Linked DNA regions of Homo sapiens: all the other regions are linked to region 2. Evidence: promoter capture Hi-C in 16 types of primary human blood cells and fetal thymus (Javierre and others, 2016). All regions are on one chromosome and are shown on one strand. The core of a region is centred on a gene start or on the middle of the fragment in contact, and the rest is flanking DNA. Distances in the headings are between cores, read along the strand shown.

What was found. The method cuts DNA at HindIII sites, captures the fragments that hold promoters and counts their contacts. A CHiCAGO score of 5 or more calls a contact.
Region 1: a contact is called between a fragment that was not itself captured here and the fragment with the promoter of CHRM3-AS1 in region 2, in 13 of 17 cell types (naive CD8 T cells, non-activated CD4 T cells, naive B cells and 10 more). The highest score is 33.6, in naive CD8 T cells.
Region 3: a contact is called between a fragment that was not itself captured here and the fragment with the promoter of CHRM3-AS1 in region 2, in 7 of 17 cell types (megakaryocytes, M0 macrophages, M2 macrophages and 4 more). The highest score is 15.4, in megakaryocytes.
Region 4: a fragment that was not itself captured here is called in contact with the fragment with the promoter of CHRM3-AS1 in region 2 in 1 of 17 cell types (endothelial precursors); the score reaches 7.8 in endothelial precursors.
Region 5: a contact is called between a fragment that was not itself captured here and the fragment with the promoter of CHRM3-AS1 in region 2, in 3 of 17 cell types (total B cells, endothelial precursors and total CD4 T cells). The highest score is 9.1, in total B cells.
Region 6: a contact is called between a fragment that was not itself captured here and the fragment with the promoter of CHRM3-AS1 in region 2, in 1 of 17 cell types (M2 macrophages). The highest score is 5.1, in M2 macrophages.

Annotation. Positions count from the first base shown.
Region 1 is chr1:237,809,300-237,813,669 of GRCh38, reverse strand. All of the region lies in intron 100 of RYR2 (ryanodine receptor 2), which reads right to left. Among named protein-coding and RNA genes, the nearest start is that of ZP4, 79 kb to the left of the region's middle. The HindIII fragment of the contact is 2,191 bases long and covers 1,960-4,150 here.
Region 2 is chr1:239,898,189-239,902,433 of GRCh38, reverse strand. It overlaps CHRM3-AS1 (CHRM3 antisense RNA 1), which reads left to right and starts at 2,562. Exons shown (of 2, transcript NR_046582.1): 1 at 2,562-2,670; 2 at 4,042-4,245. The region is part of intron 6 of CHRM3 (cholinergic receptor muscarinic 3); the gene reads right to left. The HindIII fragment of the contact is 7,774 bases long and covers 1-4,245 here.
Region 3 is chr1:237,860,097-237,864,160 of GRCh38, reverse strand. It overlaps the pseudogene LOC100130331. Among named protein-coding and RNA genes, the nearest start is that of ZP4, 29 kb to the left of the region's middle. The HindIII fragment of the contact is 4,755 bases long and covers 1-4,049 here.
Region 4 is chr1:237,823,866-237,828,473 of GRCh38, reverse strand. RYR2 (ryanodine receptor 2) reads right to left here. Exons shown (of 105, transcript NM_001035.3): 102 at 29-93. Among named protein-coding and RNA genes, the nearest start is that of ZP4, 65 kb to the left of the region's middle. The HindIII fragment of the contact is 181 bases long and covers 1,160-1,340 here.
Region 5 is chr1:237,791,815-237,796,431 of GRCh38, reverse strand. It overlaps RYR2 (ryanodine receptor 2), which reads right to left. Exons shown (of 105, transcript NM_001035.3): 94 at 4,109-4,327; 95 at 2,435-2,565; 96 at 1,101-1,143. Among named protein-coding and RNA genes, the nearest start is that of ZP4, 97 kb to the left of the region's middle. The HindIII fragment of the contact is 5,160 bases long and covers 180-4,617 here.
Region 6 is chr1:237,843,690-237,847,800 of GRCh38, reverse strand. No RefSeq gene overlaps it. Among named protein-coding and RNA genes, the nearest start is that of ZP4, 45 kb to the left of the region's middle. The HindIII fragment of the contact is 5,945 bases long and covers 1-4,111 here.

The DNA of each region.
Region 1 (4,370 bases), core at 1,806-4,305, 2.1 Mb after region 2:
TCATGCCCCCATGAAATTAGGCAAAATCAACCAGGTGAAGGCAGTTGTCTTCCTAAGCAAAATTAACAAAAGTAATGGAAATGCATACTGAGAGTGAGGTTCAAAATGTAGTCGTTTAAGGATCCTATGATTACAACTTGAATGGGGTCAACTATGACGACTGCATAATAAAAGGAGAGACCAGGATGTTGCTGGGGTCTCCCTGTGGTACAAAAGGAAGATCTAAAGTCACATATTGTTCTCACTACCTGATACAGGTCACTGAATGCCATTATCTGAAATCATTCCTATTTTTCTATTAATTTTTAGCAATTCTCTGAGCATCATAGCCTTTAGGAATACATAACCTAAGTAAACTTTCTGCCCTGAGGCTGGTAGATATTGAGATTTATAAATTTTGTCGGGTGTTTGTCCTAGAATAGAACTGAATTTCCTGGAAGTCACTGCAGGCAATGTACCTGCTACTGCTACCTTCTGCACCTCCCTTGTGCCTTGTAGCCTTTCCTGGCCTCCCACTCCCCTCCTGCCTTCAGGGTCACAGGGTAGAAAGGCTCTGAGCACAGCTGATATTAAAGGCAGCGCATGGAAGAGGAGATGAAGGATCCTTAACACATCTTCAGCCCTAGGCCTGGAATGAATGAATAGGCGTGGGAGGAGGGGGTAAAGTGTTGCATGTTAGTGACTCTGATGGAGAGTCGTCACTAGTAACGGGTCAGTCTTATTGCATTGAATCCAGTTTTCTTACAGTTGCTGTAAGTTAAAAAAAAAAAAAAAACTTATACATTTTTCTCTGCTTTGTGGTGCGAGAAAAGCAGCAAAAGGAAGGATAGGAGATGGTTTTAAGAAGTGGGCAGGTGGGCCAAATCAGGGGGTGATAGAAAGGCAGTCAGGGAGGAGGCTCCAGGCAAGGTGCATGAATTATTTGTCCAGCAATTAATCGGAGAAGAAGACTAGCAAATGTAAGTAAGTATTACATCTCAGTCATGACAACTTATGATGACTAAAATGGATCTCAAGTATTAAGGCACTTGATCTATGTCCGTATCAATATCTTCCACCCTGTGGTATCATGTGACATTAATAAGTTATTTCTATTTCCCTGTCTAGTAGCCAGCCACCTAAAGCAACTTCTCAATTGCAATATTTGAGCAGTGATGTTGAATCCACTATTTTTGTATAGTATATTAAATGTTCTGTATGCGATAGGAATACTGATCCACAAGGTTTTCCAAAACTTCTGGAATTTCTGGGGCACTCTTTTCTTGGAGGATCCCAGAAAAAAGAACGAGCTTAGCAGAATTTCTAGAAAGGTGCTTACCATGCAAATTCCATGAAGGCAGGGACTGTACTTACTCAAGCCTTATCCTTAACGAGTGCCTGGTATAAAAATAGCACTAAAATTAATGACAGAAGCATGAATGAAGTTACTATCTGTGAGGTAGTGTAACTTAGAGTACTGGTTGAAGAGTGTCACCTCTTCCTAACTGTGTGACTTATGACAAGTTACTCAAACTCTTGGTAGCTCAGTTTCCTCATCTGTAAAATGGGAATGATAGCAGTGCCAACCTGCAGCAGAAAGTTGGTAGGAGACTACTGAGTTAATATTTGTAAAGCTCTTGAGACAATGCCTGGGACAATAGCATTTATAGCCAAGTGCTATATAAGCACTTGACAAATAAAAAAAATCTACAAGACTGTGGATTTGTAACTGGGATGGCATTTTCTTCCAGTTGAGGAATTAAGTTTATGGATGAACAACCATGAACATCAGAGTCCTTTCAGCTCTGATACTCCGTGTCCTCCAAGTAGGTCACTAGCACGTGGAAACCACAAAGTCACATGTGAAACACCTCAGAACGGCAATCGTGACAGGAAATGTTGAAAATTACAGATGATTTTCACATGAACAATATGATTTGCTCTGCTGTCAACTATGTGTGGAAGGATGAGTTGAAAGCTTTTTCCCCCTGCATTCTCCATCAAAAGCATCCCTTTTTGAAGTTCCAAGCCTTCGAAAATTTAATCTTGACCTAAGAAAAGTGAATATTTTTATGTCAGCAAGCTATTATGTATCCCCAATTTTTAACTAACCTGCAATTCATTTGAGAGTTATTTATTCTTAAGATTTTTTTTATTAAAAAGAAAGTTGGGAAGAGAACAAAATGCTTAATATTGAAAAGCTAAAGAATGACAATCTTGTCTGAAGCTCTCTAAATTAGTAAATAAAAGAATACTTGTTTAAAGGAGAGAAAGGATGGGCAATTCTATATTAATGATCATTTATGATAAAGTTTTAAATACAGAAAAACTTCTTTACACAAATAAGAGATTTGGGCTATAAATAAATGGCTCAAGAACAGGCAGTGGATCAAAATGTAACATCGAGTTTCAGCAGAGCTTCCCTCAACCTCTGTCCTTTAATTCCCTCAGGTCAGCCACCTGTATGTTCTGTTCTCTCCTCCCTGCCAGGGAACAGTCACTGCATGTAGTTATACTAATTGTGGGAATAACTGAAGGCAGATTATCTTCTATAACATGGTGGGGAAAAAACTGTCTTAGGCTTTTAAAAATAAAAAAATACCTATGGTAAAAAGAAATAGTATCAATAATTCAGACAGGAGTAAAGTCTATAAAATGAAAAGCAAACAAGTTTCTTTCCCCTGTGATCTATGGTCCTACCCCTGTAGGAATCCTTGTTCACAGTGTCCTATGAATAAATCCCTCCAGAAAAATGTTATGCATATTCCAGCATATCAAAAATATGAATTATTGTGTATATATAATTTCACACAATTAGGATCCTATCATTACTGATCCAAGATCTTGTTTTTTTAAATTAAATGTAATTTAATTAAAATGTAATTTATATATCTCTCCATATCTGTATACATGAATTTCTCTCATTTTCAAACAGATGCATACTTGTTATGGATTTATCGTAACTGACTTAATCAGGACACTACTAATGATCATTTAGATTATTCCTAGCTTGTGAGGGCAGCTAATGTTCTTGAACATACAGAGGCTTGTTTGTGAGTAAACCTTTAGGTAAAGTACTAGCAGTGGAATTAATAGGTCAAAGGATATATATACTTAAAAATTTGATAGGTGTCACAAAACTTCTCTAAAATTGTTGTCAATTCAACCTCCCAACCAGAGTCATGAAAATGCTGATTTTTCCCATCAATTCACCAACTGTGGGTTTTAACAAACGTGAATACTTTGCAAACCTGATAGGTAAAAAGTGTTTTTTTCATTGTTTTAATTTGCATTTCTTTCACTTTGACAGAGGCTGAGCGTCTTTTCAAATTTGCAAGCCCACTGAATTAATTTTACCGTGAATTGTCTGGTCATGTGACTTACTTGTTCTTCTATTGGCTTATTTCTTATTGATGTGATAAGGACTTGGTAGATTAAGGAAAATGGCCCTTTGTTATGGTGTTAAATATATCTTTCCCAGTTTACCATTTGCCTTTACGACTTTATTTATAGTTGCTCTTTTTTCAAATAATGTTTATGCTTTCATAGATCCTGAGTTTTATGTCATACTCAGACCGTTCTCCATGTAAAAATGAGTATTACTATTATTTAAGGCATCAAATTCTGTCTTGTGATTATTCCTTCTTATTGCATTAAAATATGCTCATTTCAGAATTTATTTTTATTTAAAAAGCAAGGTTGGCATCCATTTTTATCATTTCCCCCCAAATAGCTTGTCCATGGTACTAATGTCATTTATTAAATTATTTTTCATTTCATTACTTCAAAAGATCTTTATCATCTTTTAATTTCCGTGAGTATTTGCATCTGTTTCTGAACTACTCTGTCCCACTGAGTTGTCATTCTTTAGTATAAAATTATCTTAATTGTTAGTCTTTGTAATACTGGTCATTCTCATCAATCTTTTGGGCTATTTTTTCTAGAGTAATTTATGTATCATTATATCAGCCTCTATACCTACATCCCCAACACAAATGATGTAGGTATTTTCGTGAGGAGCTTACTGAAGGATACATCTCTTTCCAGCTAGTGATATATATTTTGTCTCATGTTCCCCTTCCTGATCTAAGATCTCATGTATGATTACCTCTCAGCTGCCAATATTAGAGAGACAGGTTGTAGAACAGCGATATAAAGCAATATGAAAGCTTTAACAGCTGTTGATTTTTGAAAACCAAGACCAAAAAAGACATTTAAGCCAAGATACTCAATATAAAAGCAAAAACCAGTAGTTCTAGGAAGAGATATATTTTTGAAATTTAGTAATTTCAGTTAAAGTCATTAAGGTGAACAAAAAACTAAGGCTTCCAAATGTTCTCTGGGAAATAGTTTTACCCGTTGTCCTGGGATATGTGAACAACAGGCTTAAG
Region 2 (4,245 bases), core at 1,313-3,812:
GCTGTGGTCTTTCTTTGGAGTTTTGCTGATTTGGGTCTGAGTTCTGGGTTGGCCCAGGAGATGTATAAACTTACCAAATTACTTGACTATTTTGAGACGACCTTTCTTCATCTATAAAACTAGAATACTATCGCCTGATCTGTAGATTATGGAGAAGATAAGAAGCATTGTGGTGTTGTAGGCTAATACTCTGAAGTATTAACGGGGATCTTGCCTCCCTTCTCCCAATGCTAACTTTTTGTGTTCTCAGGGTTGTGTTGTTACTTTAGAAACACAGGGAGAAAGAAACCAGTGTTTCCTCATTTTTTGCTTTTTAAAGTAGATTTTAAATACTCTGGTAGAGAGAAGGGATTTAAAGATAAGGGCTTTGAAACTGCAAACACTTGGTCTTCTGAGCATCAATGCATGGTATACTGACCTACACACTAGGAAAATAAGAAAAATCTCCCCTTGCCACATCCAGAGTGAATAAATTGATAATAAGTACTACAAAAAGGTGATTTGGAAGTATTAATTAAAACTGAAAAGGCATGTACACCATGAACTAGCAATCCAACTGCTAGGTATCTACCCTCTAGAAATTATTGCATTCGTATGTACACAAGGAGACACGCCCAAGGCTATTAACTGAAGCATTTATTTTTATGACAAAAATGAGGAAAATCTATAAGACCATTCGTTTTGAAATGAATTCAAAAATGAGGTCATTCATAAAAGGGAATACTATGCAGCAGATAAAAGCAATCAACTAGATATATATTAACTTAGAACCATCTAAAAATACTTTGTTAAGTAAGAAAGGCAAGTTGTGGGATGACAAATACAACACGATAAAATTTAGTTTACAATAAAACACAGCAATAGTATACTAAAGATTGTACATGCCTGTATACTAAAGGTTGTATACAGACATATAGACAGATACCACCTTTAGTATATTAATATAATTAAAATTGTCATAGAAGGATAGAAAGATTTACATGCAAATCATATATTAGCAGTGGTATTTTGGAGGAGGAAGATAAAATTAGGATTGAGGGTGATGGACAAAGAAGACTTCAGCTCAATCTGTAATGTCCCGAATGAGGAAAAAAAAAAAAATCCCAAAGTTTCCGAAGCCAGAAGGAAGTGAAGAAGAGAGTTAAAAGGGGGCAGATATTGGTGATGGTTGCCAAGGAGGGCTTGGAATCTTGCCTTACACTCTGCTGTTGCTTTTAAATGCGGAGAAGGTTGGAGGAAAAAGAGGTCGCATCTGATAATATTGATCAGACTCAAAGAAGATGCGTGCCTCATGCCCTCCTGTCTGGTGCCCAGAGGTGGCAGCTGCTCAGAGGTCACTAGGTCACCATGGCAGAAGCACCGATGACCTGAATGCCTGTGGTAATGAATTCTTCCTTAGTCTTGCCTAAGACGTAAACTCAGCTGGGCGAACACCTTGATTTCAGTGTTGAGACCCTGAACAGGGAACCTTGTTGTAAGCTGCTAAGTTTGTGGTGATTTGCTATGCAGAATGGGGCCACAACAGGCAGCTTCGAGGCAAGTTATACAAAAATGAAATGACTGATCTTGCTCGCCTGAATACGATGGATTAAAAATATTATACACACTTTACATGTAAATGAGCAATGTATTGTCTCACACATAAGAAATCCTAGTTCTACTTGGGTTGTGGATTTTCTCCCCTCATTGCTGTAGGGGCCTTTCTTGCCTTCGTCCCTCCAAGGGAATATTCAGCACCTGCCATACCTCTTCTGAGCACACTGTCTTTTCTCGACAGCCCAGGTGAGGTACATTCCTGGTGCTCCCCAATCTATTCATATCAAGGCTGTACCCAGCTTTATCAAGGAAGACAATGTCCCTATAGGGCCAGGAAACAAGATCCCTCCCACCTTCTTTCAGACATTTTCTATGAACTTCTCCGAGGCCTTGGGGCCACGGCCTCATTAAAAGGACTGTTCTCTGGAGGCTCAGCAACGGAGGTCCTATCGGTACCCAGGATGACAACAGGAGAAAGTGATCAGCCGGTCATAAGGATTTCAAAAAAAAAAAAAAAAAAGAATATCTAAAAGTACTTATTAGAAATGAGAGTCACCAAATGTTTTACTTCAGGTATATCTATTATTTCATAGGTAATATGTAACTTCCTGAGAATCAAGACTGTAGGTCAGACCCAAATGAAGCAGTGATAACCCCGGGCTAAGAGCCCTCAGTTTACGGTGATTTTCTGAGTAGAAGGTATCATTCCTATGTTTAATATTCCTTCCTCATCCTGACTCAACAGCTATTCCATAGCATTAGGATATTTTGAGTCAAGGAAGTTCACAGTCTACACTCATTGAATTGAATGATATTGGTGAGGGGACCTACAGGAAGTCTTTCCTTGTAATGCTCAGGAATAAACAGGTGGTGGGAACAGAGATCCTTGTCAGCCCAGTGACCTTCGCACTTTATAAGTAATCCCAGGCAAGAGTTCTAGGAATGCAGCCTGCATGAGGGCTCAGGGCATGGTCAGATAGGGGCAGACCAGGGGCAGGTGCCTGGCTCCTCTCTGGGGTCAGAGCAGGCTCCCTCCCTGCCAGGTTGTGGGTGCAACATTCAGGGAATGGTTACTGAAGTGTTCCAGGCACCAGAGCTCAGGCAAGAAGTGGAAAACTGCGCAAGATCCTGCACGTGGGTACCATCAGTGCCTTTGTGGGGAAGTTACATCTGTGTGTATGTATATATACTTAGTATATATATACGATATACTTAGTGTACTTATATCGTGTATATATACTATGTACTTAGTATACTTACTTATATACAATGTACATATACTTAGTGTATATATACATTGCATGTTGAACTTACTATATATATACACACACACTACACACACACACTAATTGGTCCGCTAATTGGCTGTTGCATTTTGAACTTGGTATGTGTGTATATATACATGTGTGTGAGTATATATACACACATATATACGTATGTATATACATATCATATACATACATGTGTATAGATATGTGTGTATATATGTATATGTGTGTATATGTATATGTGTTTATATATGTATATATGTATTTATGTATATATACACACACACTAAATTCAATAGATATATATGCGTGTGTGTATATACACACACACACACACACACACACACACACACTGAGTTCAAAATGCAAGAGCCAATTAGTGGGCCAATATGAGAATTAAAAAAGAAAAAAATGTACAGCAAATTGAATAGGACGTATCAGAATGCATACCACATAATGACAATCAATATCACTTCATTAAATTTTTGCTCGACATACACACACGTATAAAATTATGTCTATAGTCATGATGTACGTACAATGTATTTTGTGTTGAATAATGTTGGAAAGCCACTGCAGTGGATATTTTGACATCTTTTATTAATATTTAAAAGAAGAGGGTGAAACAAAAAATGTGAAAAAAGACAAAAAAGTTTGACAGTACTGAATTTAGGAGAAATTGAAGGTTAGTTCTAGGAAATTTGCCTTCTTCCCCCTAGTTATGGCAAAAAATAACTTTTCTGGGGTTATAAGTCTGTGAAATATATAGGTAAATTTAAAAAATTTAAAAATGTGTAAATATCCAGTGTGAAATACATGTGAGATTGCTTACAGAAACGGACAAGGCCAATATACATGTGAGGCTTCTGGTTATAATGAATTCCAAGGAGATAAACTCATTTCATGTCCTCTGAGCCAACCGGGCAGTACCTACTTGGGAAAAATGTTTGAGGGCTCTCGATTTTTAAACCTGCTGAACCAATTAAAAGCGTATAAATTTTTCTAGAAGTCTAAATTAATTCTACGTCTATAATAATAATTATTTTTTTAAGTGATGATATGGGAAAAACCCAAAATATCTTTGCAACATACAGCCGTGCGTTTTTTCTCAGACCAACTATTTAGTGCCTCTTCCCTATTTGTAATCCAGTCTGCGTCATTTTTCAGGGCTTGTTTTGGGTCTCTGACTGCCTTCTTTGCTTAGAGTGTCTCTGTTTTCTGTCATAATTCACTATAGCATTCAACGGCTAAAATGACTTTTAAAACTACCTGGTGAATGGCAATACCACATCAAACCACTAGGTGGCAAAGCAGACTCGGAGAACGACCTCTCTGCCAGCAGGCGCTGAAGCAGCTACCCGTTCCCCATGCTGGTGACCAGGAACTTCAGCTTAGCTCAGTCATGCAGTTCGCGGAGGATATCAAACAGAGTCAACAAAGC
Region 3 (4,064 bases), core at 423-2,922, 2.0 Mb after region 2:
TTTTTGTTTCATTTTGGTTTTTCTAACAAACTTTCAGAAAGCAAATTAATACTTGAAAATTTCTCAGAAACCAGCTCTGTGACTTTAGACAGCAACATTTCAAAATAGCTTCCATCTCATCTTTAAAATGATGAGATTAAACTCCATGATTCCTAATTTCCTTCCAGCTCAAAAATATATTGACTTCTAGGGTGCATAACATGCTTTTCTTTATAATTTATATTACAATATCATAATTTCATTAAAAGTGGTCTAGATGACAGGAAAGAGAGTTCCACTCATTCTGGCTTATGCTAAGGGAGCGCATTTCCAGGAAATAAATAAGAGAATCTTGTGAGCGGCCATAAACACATGCTGAAATACAGCCAAGCCCCAAAGAGAAAACCCAAGGCTGCTTCCTGCCTCTTTCTCATGGGCCGTGAGGGTCCCTCACAGCTTCTGCTCTTGTGAGCACGTCTGACCCCATTCTCCCCGATCTGCAGCAGCCAGCTCTCCCTTTTAACACATACCAGGACTCCTGTTTTCTCATAGCCCCAGTTTGCAGGTGGCCCATAGTTACCACCGGGGCCCTGAGTCTGTGTAATGAAGTAAGCTCAGCTCCCATAGCCAATCCCCTCTCAATTTCCCAGTTCCAAAATCCAAAGAGAGAAATATGATTGGTGTAGCTCACCTATGGAGTCAGGTTTCACAGTATAGATCATTAGCAGCCTGTGATTGGCTGTCCTGGGGGCCGGTAACTGCCTGTGGTCCAATCAGGTGGGAGGGTAAGGTCATGTAACACAAAACATGGCCACTTAATTGTGGGTGGGGCACATTCTGTTAGTAAGGGTTAACATTAGACTGTAAAGACCTGTGCTGTCAAATAAGACAGTCACTAGCCATGTGTAGAATTTGAATTCATATTAATTGGAATAAAATTTAAAAATCAGTTCTAGTTTACACTAGCCACACTTCCTGCTCAGTAGCTATATGTGTGTCTAGTAGCTACTACATTAAGAACGTTCCCATCACTGGAGAAAGTTCTGGTGGACATCACTGACCTCTAGACAATAGAGCTATCTAGGGGAGTTATTTAATGTAGAAGATGATGATAACAGAGAATTATTTTACTATCTTGTTTTCTATCTTGGTGTCACAACTTAGATTCTTAGAGTCCTTGGAGAAGAATAAGAGGCAAAGCAGATGTAATTTTTCTCATGTACTAGATGCTTATTGAGTGTCCTAAGGCAGCCATAGGGACATTCTATCAGCTATCACTTTCTCAAACTGCGGCCTGGGTCACTGACTCTGGATCGGCAAGATCTGCAGAAACACAATGGGAAAAATTAGAATATACATTTTTTAAATTCATGTGACCCTTTCACATAAGGCACAAATAGAGTTAAAGCTGTGGGATTTGGTACCTGTTCAAACGGGGGTTTCATTGTCTCCTCCACTAAGGTGACTCTCAAAAAGTAGTCTTGAAATAGGAATGGTATAGGTGCTGGAGGCACAGTATTCAGTCACAGCAGAATAAGAAAAGCAGTACATAGGTCAGGGCCCTATTGCCTCTAATGTCCTTGCTCTTATTTTTTGGCCAAAGCGTAACCGGGGTACCATTCACTGAGTCCTGAAGTGGTAGGGGTGATGGTGATATACCTCACTAGCTGGTTCCTATGGAGTGACTTTGCTCTGTGACCTGCTTCTTCATCCTCAGGCCTGCTTTGGCTGCTGTCTGTTTACCAGCCTGGCTCTCCAGCCTCATGTCTTTCCCAGGAACCCCTGTACATAGAGAAGACAGTTTCCCCTCAGAAGAACTAAAAAAATCACATGAGCCTGGACCTGCTAGGGGCTATCACTACACTATTTAAAGACAACCTGATAGAAGTGCATCGAATTGAGGCACGACAGAGAAAGAGGGGAGGAGGGAGACGGAGGGAGAGAAGGAGGAAGTAGTGAGTAGAGAGATGCATTACAGTGACTTCATTTGTACTCTTGGATTCAGCGATGCCGGAAGTGGCACCTAGGACTTCCAGGTTACGTCAGCCAGTACACTTCCTTTTACTCGAAGGGAGTCTGAGCTAGGTTTCACTTGCAGCCAAGGGAATCTTCATTTCTTCACATCCTGAAACCAGCTAATGACAGCAGCAAGGAAAATGAACTAATAATTTATACTAAGTTATAAATTACTCATGACTTAATATTTCCTACTCCACGATTAATTCAGGTTTTGGAAAGCACTCTGAAGACTCAATGCCCCTCTTTCTATAATGCTCTCTCTGTAATATTTTGAAGGCTATTTCTCCCTTTATTTCTCTTTCAATAGAGTTTAATTTTTAGAGAAGTTTTAGGTTTACAAAAAGGATGAGCAGAAAGTACAGAGTTTCCATATACTCCTCCTCCTCTCCCTGCTCTCCAGTTTCCCATAGCATTAACATCTTGCATTGCTGTGGTACATGTGCTACAATTGGAACATTATTGATATATTTTTATTAACTAAAGTTTATGGTTTCCATTGGGGTTCACTCTTTGTGTTGTAATTTCTATGGGTTTTGACAAATGAATATTGTCATATATCCATTACAGTATCATACAGAAAAGTCGTTCTGCCCTAAAAATTGCTTGTCCTCTGCTATTCATCTCCTCCCACACACCCCTAATCCCTGACAACCACCGATCTTTTTTACTGTCTCTATCTATAGTTTTGCCTTTCCTAGAATGGCATATGTTAGAATCATACAGTATATAGCCTTTTCAGATTGGCTCCTTTCACTTCGGAATATGCATTTAAGTTTCCTTCATGTCTTTTCGTGGTTTGATTATTCATTTCTTTGAATTGCTGAATAAGGTTCCATTCCCTGGATGTACCACGGTTTGTTTATCCATTCACCTACTGAAGGACATCTTGGTTGTTTCAATATGATGCAATTATGAATAAAGCTATAGATTGGATGACCTCTTTCTGTTATGCCCTGTATGCCCTGCCTGTCCTATTTCGAAAGCTGTTTTTCGTTTTCCGAGAGTCACTCAGATGTCATCTGCCTAAGGAAGGCTTCTCATCTCCTCCAGAAGGTGTTCTTCGCACCTTGCTGTCTTCCTTCCCTGTAAGAGCACTTCTTACATGTTCTGTAATCGCATTATCACATGGTTGTGTGGTTTCTTTGTGTCTGTTCCCCACCAGAGTGAATTCTTTCAGAATGTCTTACCTCTAGTGAGTTACTTAACCTCCTTTTGCCTCAGTTTCCTTGTCTGTAAAATGAAGATAATTTTTATTGTGAGAATTAAAGAAGTATATTTATATACACACATACCCCATCTAGCATAAATGTATATATTCTAAATATATATGTATATTTAGGATAGTACCTGGCACACAGTATACACTATATACATATTATTCTTTTTATTGCTATTAATATTAATCTTTGTACCCATAGCAACCAGCATGTAGATGCCACTTAGTAAATACATTTTGGGCCTGGTGCGGTGCCTCACGCCTGTAATCTCAGCACTTTGGGAGGCCCAGGCAGGTGGATTGCCTGAGCTCAGGAGTTCGTGACCAGCCTGGGCAACACAGTGAAACCCCATCTCTACTAAAATACAAAAAATTAGCCAGGTGTGGCGGCGCGCACCTGTAATCCCAGCTACTACGGAGGTTGAAGCAGGAGAATTGCTTGAACCTGGGAGGTAGAGGTTGCAGCAAGCCGAACTCGTGCCACTGCACTCCAGCCTAGGCAAGAGAGCATGACTCTGTCTCAAAAACAAAAAATAAAAATAAATAAATATAAATAAATACATACATACATAAATACATTTTGAACCAATAGTTTCCTTGTGGATGTTGGTTGATACCTGACTAGATGTGATTTATAATTTAAAATCATAATAACTATGCCAGAAGATCAATACCTATTATCGTAGGGGTTTTTCTCATGCGATTACTCAGCAATTTTAATGAAACCTGTAGACTCAGGGTTAAGCTGCCTTCTGTGAGGAGGGCATGACCAGAGCTAATGAGGCCTGGAAGAAAGAAAGAACTGGGGCATTTGCCACTTTCAGATCCAGAAGCTTTACAGATCCAGAAG
Region 4 (4,608 bases), core at 1-2,500, 2.1 Mb after region 2:
AAGCTGAGTCATGAATGGAGAAGCTTACCTCCATGTCTTCTTTGACTTGTTCCTGTTGGTCTCTTAGTTCTCCAAAAGCATCAATAATTAGACCTGGTGTTAAATAAAAACACAATTTAATCTTTATCAAGCAATGAATAATTCAGTTCCTTGGCTAATCCCCCCAGGGAAAGGGGAGATGTACAACTACCTTGCAAAATGCTCAGAACATGGTAAACGTGACTACATATCCGATACTCCTAGGAGAAAGGAGGCGGTGTTCTGTCTTTGGGGACAGAAGTATGTGCAGTTACTGGGACATACACTCACTGAAAAGAGTGTTTTAAAATGAAGTGACAGCAGGAAAAACCTTTTGTTAACTTGGCATATACAGATGTTATTACATACTTCATGCCGAAAAAGAGCAGCTGAGATTTATAAGTACAGAAAACTCCACTAATCAGATTTTTCAAGTACTAATGTAGAAATGAAACATCACCACTTAAACGAAGAAATCTGCCTCAAGTCTTTTTTTTTTTTTTTTTTTTTTTTTTTTTTGAGACGGAGTCTCATTCTGTCACCCAGGCTGGAGTGCAGTGGCACAATCTCGGCTCACTGCAAGCTCCGCCTCCCGGGTTCATGCCATTCTCCTGCTTCAGCCTCCCCAGCAGCTGGGACTACAGGCACACACTGCCACACCTGGCTAATTTTTGTATTTTTAGGAGAGACAGGGTTTCACCGTGTTAGCCAGGATGGTCTCGATCTCCTGGCCTTGTGATCCGCCTGCCTCGGCCTCCCAAAGTGCTGGGATTACAGGCGTGAGCCACCATGCCCAGTCAAGTCATTTTTTTTTTTTTTTTTTTTTTTGAGACAGTCTTGCTCTGTCACCCAGGCTGGAGTGCGGTGGTGCAATCACAGCTCACTGCAGCCTCAACCTCCTGGGCTCAAGCGATCCTCCTGCCTCAGCGTCCCAAGTAGCTGGGATTACAGGCGCACACCACCACACCCTGATAATTTCTGTTTGTACAGACAGGGTTTCGTCTTGTTGACCAGGCTGGTCTCAAACTCCTGGGCTCAAGCGATCCTCTCGCCTCAGCTTCCCAAAGTGGTAGGATTACAGGCATGAGCCATGGTGCCAGGCCCCAAATCACTTTTTTCACAAGTCCCTTATAAGTAAGCTTCCATAATTTCATTGACTGTGACAATCAGAAACACTGTGTTGAGCTGTTTTAAGCTCCTTTTCCCTCCTGAGACCTGCTGGCTTCACACTTTCTTCGAAGTTATAACTTTGCCCTCTTAGAAAACACGTTATTTTTACACTCAATAAGAGCACAATGAATGAATTATGAGTCCCTTAAGCTTGTCCATGGTATTTGACTAAAAAATAGTGTCATTTGATGTCTGTGGAACTTAAAAGAGATTGTCACATTTACAGACATTTAATTCAAGCCAGGATACATGTGTTAAGCGGAAAAGATAACATGACTTTTCTGAGAGAGAAAAACACCACACTCCAAGTTGCCCGGAAGTAAAAGGAAGAGCTAGTGGGTCAATACAGCACCGTGGTTGAAGGGGTCTGGATGCAGATTGCCTGGGTATAGATGGATTCCAGCCCTGTTTAGCTGTGCACTTTGGCCAAGTTCCTTAGACTTATTGTGGCTCAGTTACTTCATGCATAAAATAAGAGCACCATTCTCATAAGGTTGGTGAAATGGTAAAATTAGTTAATACATGTGCTGGGCAGATAGTAGGTATTCAACAATGATACTATTAATAGCTTTATAATTATTTATAAAGCACTGACTATGCATCAGGTATTAGACTGGGTACTTGAATGTATGTCCTTTTTTTATTATACTTTAAGTTCTGGGGTACACGTGCAGAACGTGCAGGTTTGTTACACAGGTATACACGTGCTATGGTGGTTTTTGCTGTACCCATCAACTTGTCATCTACATTAGGTATTTTTCCTAATGCTATCCCAACCCCTCAACAGGCTCTGGTGTGTGATGCCCCCCAATGTGTTACCATTGTTTAACTCCCACTTATGAGTGAGAACATGTGGCGTTTGGTTTTCTGTTCTTGTGTTAGTTTGCTGAGAATGATGGTTTCCAGCTTCATCCACGTCCCTGCAAAGGACATGAAATCATCCTTTTTTTATGGCTGCATAGTATTCCATGGTACATACGTGGCACTTTTTAAAATCTAGTCTATCATTGATGGGCATTTGGGTTGGTTCCAAGTCTTTGCTATTGTGAACAGTGCCCCAATAAACATACGTGTGCATGTGTCTTTATAGTAGAATGATTTATAATTCTTTGGATATATCCCCAGTAATAAGATTGCTGGGTCAAATGGTATTTCTAGTTCTAGATCCTTGAGGGATCACCACAGTGTCTTTTACAATGGTTGAACTAATTTACACTCCCACAAACACTGTAAAAGTGTTCCTATTTCTCCATATCCTCTCCAGCATCTGTTCTTTCCTGACTTTTTAATGATCGCCATTCTAATTGGCATGAGATGGTATCTCACTGTGGTTTTGATTTGCATTTCTTCAATGACCAGTGATGACCTATTTTTCATATGTTTGTTGGCTGCATAAATGTCGTCTTTTGAGAAGTGTCTGTTCATATCCTTCACCCACTTTTTGATGGGGTTGTTTGTTTTATTCTTATGAAGTTGTTTAAGTTCTTTGTAGATTCTGGATATTAGCTGTATATCAGATGGATAGACAGCAAAAAATTTTCTCCCATTCTGTAGGTTGCCTGTTCACTCTGATGATAGTTTCTTTTGCTAGGCAGAAGCTCTTTAGTTTAATTAGATCCCATTTGTCAGTTTTGGCTTTTGTTGCCATTGCTTTTGGTGTTTTAGTCATGAAGTCTTTGCCCATGCCTATGTCCTGAATGGTATTTGCCTAGGTTTTTTTCTGGAGTTTTCATGGTTTTAGGTCTTATGTTTAAGTCTTTAATCGATCTTGAGTCAATTTTTGTATAAGGTGTAATGAAGGGATCCAGTTTCAGCTTTCTGCATATGGCTAGCCAGTTTTCTCAACACAATTTATTAAATAGGGAATCTTTTCCCCAGTGCTTCTTTTTGTCAGGTTTGTCAAAGATCAGATAGTTGTAGATGTGTGGTGTTATTTCTGAGGCCTCTGTTTTGTTCCATTGGTCTATATATCTGTTTTCATACCAATACCATACTCTTTTTGTTACTGTAGCCTTGTAGTATAGTCTGAAGTCAGGTAGTGTGATGCCTCCAGCTTTGTTCTTTCTGCTTAGGATTGTCTGGGCTATGCGGGCTCTTTTTTGGTTCCACATGAAATTTAAAGTAGTTTTTTCCAATTCTGTGAAGAAAGTCAATGGTAGCTTGATGGGGATAGCATTGAATCTATAAATTACTTTGGGCAGTATGGCCATTTTCACAATATTGATTCTTCCTATCCATGAGCATGGAATGTTTTTCCATTTGTTTGTGTTCTCTCTTATTTCCTCAAGTGGTAGTTTGTAGTTCTCCTTGAAGAGGTCCTTCACATCCCTTGAAAGTTGTATTCCTAGGTATTCTCTTTATAGCAATTGTGAATGGGTGTTCACTCACAATTTGGCTGTTTGTCTATTATTGGTGTATAGGAATGCTTGTGATTTTTGCACATTGATTTTGTATCCTGAGACTTTGCTGAAGTTGCTTATCAGTATAAGGAAATTTGGGGCTGAGATGATGGGGTTTTCTAAATATACAATCATGTCATCTGCAGACAATTCGACTTCCTTTCTTCCTAATTGAATACCCTTTATTTCTTTGTTTTGCCTGATTGCCCTGGCCAGGACTTCCAACACCATGTTGAATAGGAGTGGTGAGAGAGGGCATTCTTGTCTTGTGCCAGTTTTCAAAGGGAATGCTTCCAGTTTTTGGCCATTCAGTATGATATTGGCTGTGGGTTTGTCATATATAGCTCTTATTATTTTCAGATACCTTCCATCAATACCTAGGTTTATTGAGAGTTTTTAGCATGAAGGGCTGTTGAATTTTGTCGAAGGCCTTTTCTGCATGTATTGAGATAATCATGTGGTTTTTGTCATTGGTTCTGTTTATGTGATGGATTACATTTATTGATTTGCGTATGTTGAACCAGCCTTGCATCCCAGGGATGAAGCCTACTTGATCATGGTGGATAAGCTTTTCGAGGTGCTGCTGGATTTGGTTTGCCAGTAATTTATTGAGGATTTTCGCATCGATGTTCATCAGGGATATTGGCCTGAAATTTTCTTTTTTTGTTGTGTCTCTGCCGGGTTTTGGTATCAGGATGATTCTGGCCTCATAATATGAGTTAGGGAGAATTCCCTCTTTTTCTATTGTTGGGAATAGTTTCAAAGGAATGGTACCAGCTCCTCTTTGTACCTCTGGTAGAATTCGGCTGTGAATCTGTCTGGTCCTGGACTTTTTTGGTTGGTAGGCTATTAATTACTGCCTCAATTTCAGAACTTATTATTGATCTATTCAGGGATTCAACTTCTTCCTGGTTTAGTCTTGGGAGGGTGTATGTGTCCAGGAGTTTATCCATTTCTTCTAGATTTTCTAGTTTATTTGTGTAAAGGTGTCTACAGTATTCTCTGATGGTAGTTTGTATAT
Region 5 (4,617 bases), core at 1,510-4,009, 2.1 Mb after region 2:
TGAGCCGGGGGATTCTCTCGGGACTGTGTCCTCACATTCCCTGCAGGACAAATTAGGTACCATAGCGGGAAATCCAGGAACAGGATTAGCTGCCATTATGGTTTACCTATTTATTTGACTACAGATATAGAGTTTTCTTCATTAAAGCAAGAAACTCTTGCTTTAATAATTTAGAAGCTTCTTCCTTATTCCATTAAATAATAGGAATAAAATGTTCAAATTATCTATTTAAAACCATTTTAAAATTATTCTTTCACAGCTTTTGCCTAATTTGGGTGTCCTCAGATGCACTAGCGCAGTGCGACTCAAGATGCCAGGTCACGAGGGAACAAAACACTTGTACCTCCTCCACATAAAAATCGAACACATTGCTTCTAACAAAGTAAAAAAATATATATGTACATTTACAAATATACATATATGTACATGTACACATTTATATATGTATATACATATATACATATACATACATATGTACACATATGCACACATACATATGTACACACATACGCGTGCATATGTGTGTGTATCCATATATGTGTGTATATATATATGTGTATATATATATATATATACATATACATATATATATATACACACACACACATACATACCTGTATATACATACAGGCGTGAGCCACCGCGCCCGGCCATTATGTGCTATTCTTGAAATTCATATTTGGCCGGATGTGGTGGCTCATGCCTTTAATCCCAGCACTTTGGTAGGTCAAGGCGGGCAGATCACCTGAGGTCAGGAGTCAGAGACCAGCCAGGCCAACATGGCGAAACCCCATCTCGACTAAAAATACAAAAATTAGCCGGGTGTGGTGGCAGGCGCCTGGAATCCCAGCCACTCGGGAGACTGAGGCAGGAGAATTGCTTGAACTGGGCAGCTGAGGTTGCAGTGAGCTGAGATCGCGCTACTGCACTCCAGCCTGGGTGACGGAGTGAGACTCCATCTCAAAAATTAAAAAAAAAAAATGGAGACATTAATAGGCAGATAAATTATACCTCAATATCTTATTCTACATCTGAATCACATCAAATAAAAATCTAAACTGTGCTTTAAGAAAAATGTAGAGGATTCCAAGTAATATTACCTTTCTTTTAACAAATTTGTCCCAGTAGTTGTTGGGAAATGACCTAAAATATACAAAAGCATAGAAGTAAATAGTATTATTTTTAATGACAAATAATAACATATCATTTGGGATATATGGCATACTTAAAATAATATGTAAACATATATCCTGCCACGTAAACTTACAATGAATTTGGCTAACATCACATAATTTCCTGCATCATAGGTATTTGAATATTATTTTAAATATTAACATGTAAATATATACAAAAGATTATAAGCTGATACTTTAATGGAGAAGAATATGAGCATATTTATTAGGTAGCATTGTTATATTTATTTGTTTATAACATATCAGTACATAGACCTGTTTATCAATTGCCTTTAAAAATTAAAGTATCTAGAAACCTGTCATTGTTTTTCCCATGAAGAAAAAAATCTCTTTCCCACCACTTATCCTCACAGAAACTTCGAGCATAGCAGCAAAGCACAACTCTAGCGTCTTCACTAATACATAGAGAGTTTGCCTAAAGGGACTGACTTGCTTAGAAATTAGTATTAATGGTAGAATTGCTAAACAAAACATTTAGCATTTAGGATAAACATGTATCATGTATAAATAATCTCCATTTGACAACTCGGAACCCATTAGCAAATGACTTTTTAATTAGCAAAACTAATCACAATTTTAAAAAGATTTCACTCGAATAGTAAATATAAACTATTACAACTATTGCACTAATTCTTTTTACAGTGAAAAATTATACTTTTGTGATGGACTTATACTCAGAACAGCAGCTAGTAGTTTGGGTCTTGATCTCACAGGGCTAAATGTTTATTGGATAGAAAAAGCATTTGTTTTTCTGTCTTACATTTTACACCGTGTCCTAATATTTAGTTAGTTTCATGCTAGGGTGCTTGATGGTACTGAAAGTTGATAACTCAGATATATTCAAGGTGTAAAATTCAATGCATTTTCCTTTAATGCTACAACTTTTTCGTTAATGAATAATTTTTGCCTCTGCTTTTGGATGAGATAACCCTGCCTGCAGGTCATGCACTTCCTGCTACACACATCCCTGAACGCTGAGTAATGGATGTGAAGTTCCATCAGTGCTGTGGAAATGAACTCTAAGCCATTTTTAATTAAGGAATTCAGAACTCAGAGGGCAAAAATTGAGGACATCCACCATTAAGAGTTGGACAGCACTGAGTCTTTAGATTTTTCTTGGCTGAATATATAACTATTATTCACCTCTGCTAAACTTTTGACAAATCTGCAGGAACTCCAACCAAATATTTTCATGTCTGAAATTTTTGAGTGCAGAAAGTCTCATATAATTATTTACTCACTGTGTGTTGATTACGAGTCTATCCCACTGGCCTTTAATATCATCTTCTGAAGGCTGTTCTGTAATATAAAGCCCATCAAATTCCAATTTCCGTGCCACTTCCTTTTCTCGCTTAAAAATAACCAATGGGACCTACATAGGAAAAATAAATACGTTAAAATTAGTTTAGATTTACTGGCATATCTTGTGGTCACTATCTTTACAAAACAGCTTTTGGAAAGAAATATTTCCTGTGTACTTCTAGGAAGGTAAAAATGGAATGAAAATGAATCAGCTATATTCAAGCAGGAAGAAGCATCTAGAAGGTTTTGGAAAAACAGAAGATAGAATAGATATTACATATATGCATATGTTTTTAAACACATAGGGTCTTATAGATAATTACACTAGTGAAATCATTTTTAAACTTCAAAGATGAAAAGATGATTATGCAAAATCATTTTGTTTACATATATCTCTCAACATGAATGAATGAAATAAAATTTAGCAATTGCAGCAATGTTCCCAAATGCATGCTACTAAAGTGCAGTTTTATTTGAGAAACCTCTTTAATAATTTCATGCTCAGCATCACCACATACTATTTTGAGATAAATTTTAATTTCGACATCAGCAAAAATCTGTCAGTTTGTCAAAATATTTCCAGAACATAATGATTTTCTAGAACATAATGATTCTCTTTTTACACGGACAGACTTTACACAAGGCACAGATAGCAGATAGACACTGATATTCTGGAAATAGCCAAGAATATGCACTCCCATAAAACAGAATAAACGGGAGGAAAGGAGTTCCTGAATAACTCTTTACATTCTAGTCTTTTACTCTGAGCCCTGGTTTTTCACACGTCTTCTGCAAGATTTATAACCAGAGGCAGAGGACAGTGAAAGTGAAATAAAGGCATTACAGTAAAAAAGCACCTTGCTAGGAAAAGATAAAGAGGTTTGGACAGGTAATGGGCAGCCCTGAGCACTCAGAGAGATTATCTTGGGTTCTATTCACCAAATTATATTGTTCCCTTGGCAGGCCTCTGGGGATAAAGCTGCATTATTTTCTGGGTGAAGTGTGACAAATCATGAGGCATTTCTGCCAAGAATAGCAGTAGATACTTCCCTCATAATAAAACAATAAAATGACTCCCAGGATTGACACAATATATTTCTATAAGTCTTAATACACCAAGTATCACTGCATTACCATGAGACATAGTGGGTGGGTGAGCTCACTTCTGTAGGGCCAAGTTATAGGCGAAATTCTCTATGTGAATAATTATCAGTATATGAAAGAAAGCTACTTTAAGACAGCTCATGGCCATAGCCCCTTCCCAGGGCAGACTAGTCAATGTAGACATAAAAAGGCCAGGCTCCAATGCCCCAGGCCAGGACAGCCCTGAAGGGGCATCCCAGCTTTGGAGACGGCACCTGCTGTGTCTGTCTACAGTAGCCCAGCTTTCCCCTCTGTCCCATCCTTCCTCCATTTGCCCCATGCATGTTGATTCATGGAGCATTCCCTCAGAAACTTTGTGCACAAAGTTTCCAGCTCAGAATCTGCTTCCCCAGAAGTCCAGCCTGCAAAACACACACACACACACACACACACACGCACACACACACACACGCACACACACACACACACACACACACACACACAGGTACCTTGGTGCCTTACTATCTTACTTTCAAGCAGTAGTATCCAATGATGCAGAAGAAAGAAATGACCGTGTGCAGAATAGCTAAGATACGCAACGTGGGCTCCATGTAGCCGCTGCTCTCCTCTAGTACATAGTGAACTGCGATGATTCTATGGGAGCTGCTGTCCAGGCTTGTCACTTTGGCATTTTCACTTGAACTTCTCGTGGGGAGCTCCTTTCCTTCAACCACAGAAGAAGTGGAGACCTGATTCAAAGCATTTAAAGTAGAGTCAGTTTGCTGCATCTAAGATACCATTGCAAGCAAAAGACAAAAGAAATACAGCCTTTTCAGCAAATAGTTGGATGTGAAGTCACTGCATAATGAAAGGACTAATAGCAAAGGCTAAAAACGATAGCTTTTCAAAAACCAAAGGCAAGTAATGAACATACTTTTAAAATTCATTCTTATTCAACCAAAAATTCTGAGGATTCCAATGCATGCTAAAAAATTAGATGGCTAAGCTCTCTTCTCAATTACAAAAGAATGTAATATAA
Region 6 (4,111 bases), core at 935-3,434, 2.1 Mb after region 2:
CTATTGAGATCATGCTTGGGTGTATGGATGCTCCATTCATTTTTTAAATAAAGTCCCCATTTTCAGTCTTTTTTTTTTTTCTGTATTTCATTTGGGGTAGTTTTATTGCTGTTTCTTCAAGTTCACTAGTCTTGTCTTACTCAGTCTAAACTTCTGTTAATTCTCTCTCATGTATTTTTCACCTCAGACACTATATTGCAATATTATTGTGCCTCTACTAATGTTAGTTTCTCTGTTGCTATCATAACAAATCCCCACAAATGTGGCATCTTAACAATCTAATCCCAGCACTCTGGGAGGCTGAGGTGGGTAAATCACGAGGTCAGGAGTTCGAGACCAGCCTGGCCAAGATGGTGAAACCCCGTCTCTACTAAAAATATAAAAATTAGCTGGGCGTGGTGGTGGACACCTGTAATCCCAGCTACTTGGGAGGCTGAGGCAGGAGAGTTACTTGAACCCAGGAGGCAGAGGTTGCAGTGAGCCAAGATTGCACCACTGCACTCCAGCCTGGGCAGCAGAGCGAGACTCTGTCTCAAACAAAACAAAACAAACAAAAAACAACAGTCAACAATCATTTATTAAGCAAAAAACATTTATTCTCTCATAGATTGGTAGGTCAGAATTCTGGACCCAGAGTGACAGCTGGTTCTGTGACTTTGTTTTACAAGATTGGACTCAAGGAATGGCAGGACTGTGCTCCTTTTTGAGGCTCTGGGGATAAACGCACTTCCAACTAACTCATTCAGGACATCAGCAGGATTTTAGTTCCATGCAACTTCAGAGGTTTCTGCTTCCTTGCTGGCTACTGGCCAGGGTCATTCTCAGCTTCTAGAGGCCACCCGATTCTCTGCCTTCCGACTCCCTCCATCTCCAAAGCCAACAGTGGCTCCAGTTCTTTCTACACTTTGACTCTCTAACATCAATCTCTCTCTCTCTCTCTTTTTTTTTTTCCTGCATTTAGCCTGAGAAAACTTTTGTAGGTGCTTCCTTTCCTGGCCTCAGGTAGTTTCCCTACGTGCTTCTGGGGCCAGTATTCAGCTGAAGACTAGAGGGGGACCCTCGGCCCATCACAGGGGTCTCTCTCCATTTCTCCTCCCTGGTTCTTTCCCCCATAGAACTCTAACCACCTTGGCATCCCCAGACTCCCAGCAACGCCTCTTTAACGCAGGGTATTATTGCTGTTGTAGTTGTTTCGTGTAAGAGAAACTAATGGGCATGAATAATCTATTTATATTAATTTCAAATCAAGATAGTAAAAATTTACATTCTTATAGAGAATTTAGTGACATCAAAGAATATATCTTCGAATTCGGTTTGAGGAAGCAGTGACCTATATGAAGAAATCCAAAATCTTCAGGTCTCATGTGGGTTGAACTGTATCCTTCTAACAGAAGATATGTTGGTGCCCTAGCCCTGAGTACGTATGTCAGAATGTGGCTTTTTTTTGAGATGGGGTCTTCACAGAGGTAATCAAGTTAAAATGAGGTTATTATGGTGGGCTCTAATCCAATATGACTGGTGGCCTTATAATAAAGGGGAAACATGGACACAGGCAGATACAGAGGGAGAATGAGAATACCACATGGAGATGAGGGCAGGGATCTACAAGCCAAGGAATGCCACCAAAAGAGAGGTGCCAATAAGCCACCAAAAGAGAGGAAAGAGGCATGGAACAGATGCCCCCTCATAGCCTCAGGAAGAATCAATGCTACCAACACCTTGATTTCAGACTCCTAGCCTCTAGAACTGTGAAACAATAAAGGAACTGTGAAACCACAGATTAATGGTAGTTACAGGAAATAACATGAATAAACTGGGCATTCAACATGTTTCTAAATCAACAAACTATAACTATATCAGTTTTCCAAAATTTATTGATAATTTTAACAAAAAATATTACCAATGCCACAATGGAAATCTTTTGGAACTTGACAAAACGATTTAAAGTGTTATCTGAAAAGAGGAGCATTAGAAAAGTCAAGAGTTTTTTTTGGTGAAAGGATGATGGATGGAGAATTTGATGTATTATATATTAAAACACATTGTGAAATTTTAGTTACTTAAAGGCATGGTCCTAATGTATCTGTTCAAACATCTTTATTGCAAGTAATAACTCAGTTCAAACTAGCTTAAGCTATCATGAAAATGACTTTTTAAAAAACTGTTATTTTAGGTTTGGGGGTACATGTGAAGGTTTGTTATATAGCTAAACTCATGTCATAGGGGTTTGTTGTACAGATTATTTTGTCACCCAGGTATTAAACCCAGTACCCAATAGTTATCTTTTCTGCTGCTCTCCCTCCTCCCACCTTCCACCCTCAAGTAAACCCCAGGGTCTGCTGTTTCCTTCTTTGTGTTCATGAGTTCTCATCATTTAGCTCCCACTTATAAGTGAGAACATCAGTGTTTGGTTTTCTGTTCCTGCATTAATTTGCTAAGGATAATAGCCTCCAGCTCTATCCATGTTCCTGCAAAAGACATGATCTCATTCTTATGCCTGCATAGTATTCCATGGTGTATATGTACCACATATTCTTTATCCAGTCTACCATTGATAGGCATTTAGGTTGATTCCATGTCTTTTCTATTGTGAATAGTGCTGCAATGAACATTTGCATGTGCGTGTCTTTATGGTAGAATGGTTTCTATTCCTCTGGGTATATAATTTATATTCCTCTGGGTATCTACCCAGTAATAGCATTGCTGGGTCAAATGGTAGTTCTGCTTTTATCTCTTTGAGGAGTCACCCTACTGCTTTCCACAATGGTTGAACTAATTTATACTCTCACCAATGGTGCATAAACATTCCTTTATCTCTGCACCCTTGCCAGCATCTATTTTTTTTTTCGACTTTTCAATAATGGTCATTCTGACTGGTGTGTGATGGTATCTCATTATGGTTCTGATTTGCATTAAATCAGTGATATTGAGCTTTTCTCATATTCTTGTTGGCTACATGTATGTCTTTTTTTGAAAAGTGTTTTCGTGTCCCTTGCCCACTTTTTAATGGGGTTGTTTGTTTTCCTCTTGTAAATGCAAGCTCTTTATAGAATGCTGGATATTAGACCTTTTACAGATGCATAGTTTGCAAAATTTTTCTCCCATTCTGTAGGTTGTCTCTTCACTCTACTGATAATTTCCTTTGCTGTGCAGAAGCTCTTTAGTTTAATTAGATCCCATTTGTCAATTTTTGCTTTTGCTGCCATTGCTTTTAGTGTCTTTGTCATGAAATCTTTGTTCATTCCTATGTCCAGAATGGCATTGCCTAAGTTGCCTTCCAGGGTTTCTCTAGTTTTAGGTTTTACATTTAAATCTTTAATCTACCTTGAGTTAATTTTTGTATGTGGTGTAAGGGGTCTAGTTTCAATCTTCTGCATATGGCTAGCCAGTTATCCTAGAACCATTTATTGAATAGGGAATCCTTCCCCTGTTGCTTGTTTTTGTCAGGTTTGTCGAAGATCAGATAGCTATAAGTGTACGGCCTTATTTCTGGGTTCTTTACTCTGTTCCATTGGTGTACGTGTCTATTTTTGTACCAGTGTACCATGCTGTTGGTTACTGTAGCCCTATTTGTATAGTTAGAAGTTGGGTAGCATGATGCCACCAGCTTTTTTTTTTTTCTTTTTTGAGATGGAGTCTCACTCTGTCACTCAGGCTGGAATGCAATGGTGCGATCACAGCCCCCTGCAACCTCTGCCTCCTGGGTTCAAGCAATTCTCCTGCCTCAGCCTCCCTAGTAGCTGGAATTATAGGTGCCTGCCAACACGCCCAGCTATTTTTTTTTTTTTTTTGTATTTTTAGTAGAGATGGGCCTCCCAAAGTGCTGGAATTACAGGTGTGAGCCACCGCACCCGGCCTCTTTTTTTCTTTTTGCTTAGGATTACCTTGGCTATTTGAGCTCTTTTATTTTATTCCATATGAATTTTAAAATATTTTTTTCTAGTTCTGTGAAGAATATCATTGGTAGTTTAATAGGACTAGCATTGAATCTATAAATTGCTTTGGGCAGTATGGTCATTTTAGCAATATTGATTCTTCCTATCCATGAACATGGGATGTTTTACTATTTGTTTGTGTCATCTCTGATGTCTTTAAGCAGTGTTTTTGTTGT